Regions from separate parts of the Homo sapiens genome. Here region 1 is linked to region 2. The links are contacts of gene promoters, found by promoter capture Hi-C in blood cells and fetal thymus (Javierre and others, 2016). All regions are on one chromosome and are shown on one strand. The core of a region is centred on a gene start or on the middle of the fragment in contact, and the rest is flanking DNA. Distances in the headings are between cores, read along the strand shown.

Region 1 (3,063 bases), core at 251-2,750, 55 kb after region 2:
AAAAAAAAAAAAAAAAAAAAGAATTTTCCGCAGAACTAAGACATAAAGAAATCTTAGGGCACATAACTTTCATCAAGGGGGAAAAGGGATTGCGCTTTTGTTGAAATGCCAGCCTCCTTCTTTAGCCAATATTTAGCCAGGTGCTGTGGTTCACACCTGTAATCCCAGCACTTTGGGAGGCTGAGGCCAGAGGATAGCTGAGCCCAGGAGTTTGAGACCAACCTGGGCAATACAGAGAGAGCCGGTCTCTCTCTCTCTCTTTTTTTTTTTTTGAGACGGAGTCTTGCTCTTGCCAGGCTGGAGTGCAGTGGCGCAATCTCGTCTCACTGCAACCTCCGCTTCCCGGGTTCAAATGATTCTCCTGGCTCAGCCTCCCAAGTCGCCGGGACTACAGGCGCCCGCCACCACGCCCGGCTAATTTTTTTGTATTTTTAGTAAAGACGGGGTTTCACCATGTTGGCCAGGATGGTCTCTGGTCTCGATCTCTTGACGTCGTGATCCACCCGCCTTGGCCTCTCAAAGTGGTGGGATTGCAGGCGTGAGCCACCGCGCCCAGCCACCGGTCTCTATTTTAGAAAGAAAAAAAGTGTCCTGCAGTCTCTCCCTAGTTCTGCGCCCTCAACCCTGATCTCCCGCCTCCTCCCACAGCCACCGTCTCGAGCTCAGCTTCAACCATGGCCCTCCCCACAGGGCTCCATCCCAAGCCAGAGCGGGTCAGTTCCCTACACAGGGCCCAGCAACACGGTGCCCAAGAAAAAGTGTTTCCAGTGGGACGCATGTCGCCTCCGTGGGTGCTAACTTCTCCCAGTGCCCGTCGGTACGTCCGTCCGGCTGTGCAGTCTCTACTGAGTGCTCAAAGTCCACTTTTAGCCCCAGCCAGCATCCTCTGAGTACCTTGTGCTCGATTCTGAATCCAGCCCTGCTCGGCGACCCTCGTGCAGACGTCCCCGTGCAGCCCCGGTCAGCACCCCGTGGGGACAGCTCCGATCAGCACCCGACGGCGGACAGCTCCTCCCGCGCCTCCCGCCTCGCCCGCCACCCCGCTCCGGGCCGCACCCGGGTTAGGGTTCCTGGGGGGATCCTGGGCGCGGCGGCGCAGCTCCCGGGGCCGCCCCGGCCTCTCGCCCAGAGGAAACAGCCCACGGCGAACCCGAGGCCCGCGGACCCCGGCGCTGCCTCCTCGGCCTCCCGCCCCGCGCGGGTCCTCCAGGGCGGGGCCCGACGCCCACCCGCCCGCCCCTTCCCTCCCGCCCCTCCCCGGGAAAAATCCTCATCGCACGCCCGGCCCTTCCCCAACCAGCGCCCGGCAGTGAAGCCGCCGCCTCTCCTCCAACCAGCGTCCCCGGCCGCGTCCCTCCCCCGCCTCCCCCGCCGCCCTCCCCGCGCCGCCGCGGAGTCCGGGCGAGGTGCGCGGGGCGGACGCCGCAGGGCGTGTCACGAGGTGAGCGGGGCGGGCCGAGCGCCGGCGCGGGGCGCGGCGAGGCTCCCGCACCCCCCGCCGCAGTCGCGGGCCTCTCCCGGAGAAGATGGCGGATCGCGCGGAGATGTTTTCTCTCTCCACCTTCCACTCGCTGTCGCCGCCGGGCTGCAGGTACCCCCCTCGGCGCCCGGGCCGGGCGGACCCTCCGCTCCCTGCGCACCCCCCCGACCCCGACCCGGCCCGGACCCCCGTCCCCGCCGCCCCAGCCCCGCCGCCGGCGCGGACCCGGCCCCGGCCCCCTGCGGTCCCTGAGCCTCGGCTCGGGCGCCCCACCCCCACCCCGCTCCCACTCCCTCCATCTTCACCGCGCGTCCCCAGCCTCAGTGACCCCCGGGCCCCGCCGGGATTCTGAGCCGCGCCCGGCCTGGACGGCTGACCTGTCAAGGGTGGAGGCCCTGGGCCGACCCTCTGCGGGGGAGGATGCGGGCGGGATGCGGGCACACCCTCCCGGCGCGGCGTGTCCCGGTGGCCTTGGCCTCTTTCAGTGGACGCCAGACCTGGCCGATAGGGCCCGGCCGGGAGAGAGTGGAAATCAAGCCCGGAGCCCTGCGGGAAGGGACTGGGGTTGGGAGGACGCTGGGCCTCTGGGTTTAGGCCTCACTCCGCCGGAGAGGGGGAGACAAACAGGCCAGACTCTCTTCCCAGAGCAGGAGCGACCCCTCCCCATCTGCCGCTGCCGCGTTGCAGCTCCCCCTCCCCTGCTCTGCAAGACCCTGACCCCAGGGGCCTGGAGCTGCGAGTGGAGGGAGGAGAGGCTGCTGGCTCTCCAGGGAGGCGGGGTGGGAGGGGTGGGGGCAGGGTTGGCTCCTCCGGGCAGGCCTGGCTCAGATGGGGGAGGGGATCCACAGGCGAGCAGAGCTTGGGGGTCAAGATGATGGCAGGATGTGTTCCGAGAGCTGGGGGCTGTGGAAACCACTGGGTGTAGGAGCTGACGCCTCCCTCTGCCCCTCCTCAGGGCCAGTTGCCAGGCAGGGAGTCCAGGGTTGGTGGCTCTCTGACCCTGGTCTCCTTTCCAGGCCTCCCCAGGACATAAGCCTGGAAGAATTTGACGACGAAGATCTGTCTGAGATCACTGATGACTGTGGCCTGGGCCTCAGCTACGACTCAGACCACTGTGAGAAGGTGGGAGAAGAGTTGGGGACACAGATCCAGCTCAAGGGAGGGCCTCATTAGGTTCTTCTTAGCGTTCACTTGGGGTTTTAGGGTGGGTGTGAGCTCAGCCTTGAACCGGGGACTCCTCTGATGGCTCCTCCCCACTTAACCCTTGAGGTTTCCTTGGTATCAACTCTCTCTTATTCCAACACATTGCAGGCCTCCACGCAGGGCCTTCCCCAGCATTCTCCCCGACCCCATCGGTGGCCAGCCCGGGGCAGGGAGGTGCTCCTTTGCTTTGGGTGCCCTCTGTCCTCAGATCACTCCCAGAAAGATCTAATCCCTGGCAGCTGCCATCACAACCTTGTCCCCTCTGCAGCCCTGTGCCCTCGTCTGCAGCTCCCATCTGTCTGTTTCATGTCTCCCCCTGCTGAAATCTTTTCTCGTCCATCTCTTGCTTCTCCTCCTCCCTGTCTCTCCACATTTCTGCT
Region 2 (3,097 bases), core at 79-2,578:
TACTCAGTCTCTAATATTTATGGGTGTCATCTCCATCCTCTGAAGGTTTCTGGACCCCAAACTTAACCAAGAGGCAGAGCCTGAGACTGGGACAGAGAATAAGGGCACGGTCTAGAAAGCCTTCCCTCAACTTGAGGTCCACCTTAAGGCATGGGGCCCACCCTCACCCTCTCCCTGTCATCTAATAGTCCCAGGGGGAGCTGGGAGGTGAGTTACCTGAGGCTCAGTAGGGTTCAGGCTGGGTGCCAGGGACACTCCTAGGCCATCTCCTTGCTGCTTGAGTAAGGGAGAAATCCCCAGGCCTGCTGTGTCCCAGAGGAAGGAAAAATACACACGGTACTTTCCAGGGAGCCCTGCCTTTGTCCCAGGGACTCCAGGCTCTTTTTCTTGTCTGAGCCTCACCTGGCACCTGGCCCGAGACACTCCTGAGATGGGATTAAGCAAGGAGCAGGTGGAGGAGCCCAGGCTTCTCCCTCAGGAAGCAAGTGCTCACATCCAACAGAAGTACCTACATGCCGGCCTGAGCCAGGGCTAGGAGGTACCAGCCAGGATGTGGTCTCGAGGGCGAGTCCTCAGCTCAGATAAGGGAAGGCTGAGGACTGAGATGAAGACACCCAGAGTCTGGCTATTAGAGCACCTGGGGCCAGAGGGGGGTGGTTTCTAAGGGATCCAGGTGCTGGCTGATGCGGTAACTGGAGTAGGGGGCAGGCTGGGCTCAGGGTTCTCCAGGGGCACAGTGAGAGTCTCATCTGGGCAGTCAAGACACTCTCGATGGGCGCAGGGGGTCCAGGAGATCCTAGAAGGTCTAGGTGGGCTGAAATAAGCCTGGCCATAAAGAGAGAAATATGTTTGGATTTTATTTATCCCATTAATTTTTTTTTTCTCTTGACTTGATAACCCTATCCCATGTCTGGTAAACCCAGAGTAAGGAGTCCAAAAGCTGCTGGAGGAGGAGCTATGGGAGCCTCAGTCTCCTCTCTATGCCCCCTCCCTGTGCCCCAGTACAAACCTCCACAGCACCCCTGCAATGATAATGCTCACTGCCAGGACCCGTGTCCAGGGTCTCCCTCTTCAGCCTGAGAGACCACCGTCAGGCACAGCCTGCACCCTCCCGTGCACGGCCCCCACCCCTCCCCTGCTGGCCCACAGTGGAATCAGCCTCTCCGGTTTCTGGTGATTTCATCAGGGCCACATCACATTGCTAGAGCTAGAGATAACATCTCCCTGTGGGTAACCCTTCCCTGCCAAGCCCCCTGAAGCTGGGCCCAGGCTGAGAGGAGGGACTGTGGGGTGTGGAATAAATTTAGGGGTGTGAGGGTCTACCAGGCAGAAGCAGGTTGGCTGTGATGACAGCACAGAGCTCAGGAACGCTGCCTGAGGACCCTGGGGCCTACGAGGAGGAGAAGAGGGCAGGAGCTGGTGGGGTGCTTGCAGAGACCCTGGGCTCCTATCCTGCCATAAGCCTCGCTGTCTCCTGATATCTGCAGCCAGGCCCTACTGACACCCCCAGGCCTGAGTGCAAGCAGAGACCCCACCATTCCCAGGCCCTGGAGGACTGGTCCACCTTAACTGGGCAGCCCTTGGGGCAGGCGCTGGCCGGTGCCTCAGCCCAGGCCTCTGTGCTCTGCATGCACTGCCAGCCTGCCATCAGGCCTCTATTGCAGCCCTGAACCATGATCCAGGGCACCTTGGAGCCAGATGGTCCCCTCTGGGGCTGGGACTGGGACAGTGACAATGACTGGGATAGTGCTGTGCTGGCCCTCCTGGCGCTGGCTGTGGTGGCTGCCACAGCGCTGGCCTTACACTGGTTTGGCTCCGGGCACGATCAAGAGGCGGCAGAACCGGTGTCCACAGCCCTCGGGGCTCAACCTCATCAGGCAGGAGGAGCTGAGCTGGCCCTGCAACCGAAGTCTAAGGTCAGTGATGGCAGCGAGGGGCAGAGCCCAGGGCAGGGGAAACCAGAGCCCCCAGGACGCGGCCAGCAGAGCCCTGTCCCTGCTGCAGCGCCGGGCGGGGGCCTGGCCGCCATGGCCCGGCTTCCACTCAAGACGGCTGTCGAGGAGGCCCGCAGAGAGGCATTAGGACAGCAACGGGGCAGTGCCACCCCCGCGGCCCCCCGAGCGGAAGGAAAGGAGCCTCCCAGGCCAGGCACTGCCCTCCTGGGCAGGAGCGAAGCAGGGGGGATGTCCGCCCCCCTCCTGATCCACTTCACTCCTCGGAGCCCTGGCAGCGAAGCGGAGGCGGAGACAGGTGGTGTCAGGGCGTCCTCTCGCCAGGCCGCAGGCCCCGCGGGGCAACAGGACACTGGCCCCTGGCAGGCGGGCGCGGGGCCCTCGGGCTCGATGGGGAGAGGCCGGGGCCGGCGGCGGCGGATGGACGCTGGCTCGGGAGACAGAGCCCGCCGCCCCCGGAAACTGGACCCGCTCCGCCTGGGCGCCGCGGGGAGCGTGTGGGACGCGGTGGACGGGGCCGCCGCCCTGGACGCCCACGCGCGCGGCCTCCCCACAGGACCCCCACTCGCCCAGGAGCCCGCACTCCCGGCGCTGCCCGCTCCCCGCGCCCTGCAGCCTGGGTCTCAGACGGAAGGCTCTGGGGCCAAGGGTGGCTGGAGCAGGGAGGCCTCGGGGGTCCCTGCCCCCGGAGGAGGCTGGCCCTGGGTCAGCAGGGAGGTCCCGGGCACCCGGAGCTTTGGCCCAGCCCCAGACTCCACGCGCCCCTGGCTAGAGAGTCCGCCTCAAGGTCGCCCACTCTCGTCCCAAGGGCCGGGTGCCACAGGGGCCTACGATGCCGGCGAGGCCGGGGCTGACAGCTCCCGAGATAACAGTCCTGCCGCTGACCTGGGGCCCACCCGGCCCCCGGAGCAAGCAAAGCCGGCTGCAGCCGGCCACAGCCGCGCGCCCTCCCGGAGCCGTGAGCCTCGCCCGCGCTCCGCCTCCCCGCCCGCAGCTCCCGGCCCGGGGTTCCCACCTGAAGCCCTGACTCTCCCCTCTCCTTCAGACTTTTTGCCCCTGGAGGTTACCCAGGATCCTTCCGTGGGCGAAAATCTCAGAGCGGCGCCAGCCCCAAGTTCAGCCTCAGCCCAAGTCTTAACTTCAGC

The links. Contacts are between HindIII fragments. The CHiCAGO score rates a contact against its expected background, and 5 or more counts as called.
Region 1: the fragment with the promoter of MAPK8IP2 here is called in contact with the fragment with the promoter of KLHDC7B in region 2 in 1 of 17 cell types (endothelial precursors); the score reaches 5.1 in endothelial precursors.

The regions. Positions count from the first base shown.
Region 1 is chr22:50,599,293-50,602,355 of GRCh38, forward strand. MAPK8IP2 (mitogen-activated protein kinase 8 interacting protein 2) reads left to right here and starts at 1,501. Exons shown (of 12, transcript NM_012324.6): 1 at 1,501-1,591; 2 at 2,497-2,602. The coding sequence starts at 1,527. RefSeq lists a silencer at 911-1,090 and an enhancer at 1,880-2,380. The HindIII fragment of the contact is 20,896 bases long and covers 1-3,063 here.
Region 2 is chr22:50,544,571-50,547,667 of GRCh38, forward strand. It overlaps KLHDC7B (kelch domain containing 7B), which reads left to right and starts at 1,329. Exons shown (of 1, transcript NM_138433.5): 1 at 1,329-3,097. The coding sequence starts at 1,674. It overlaps KLHDC7B-DT (KLHDC7B divergent transcript), which reads right to left. Exons shown (of 4, transcript NR_199716.1): 2 at 1,804-1,898; 3 at 217-825. The HindIII fragment of the contact is 20,060 bases long and covers 1-3,097 here.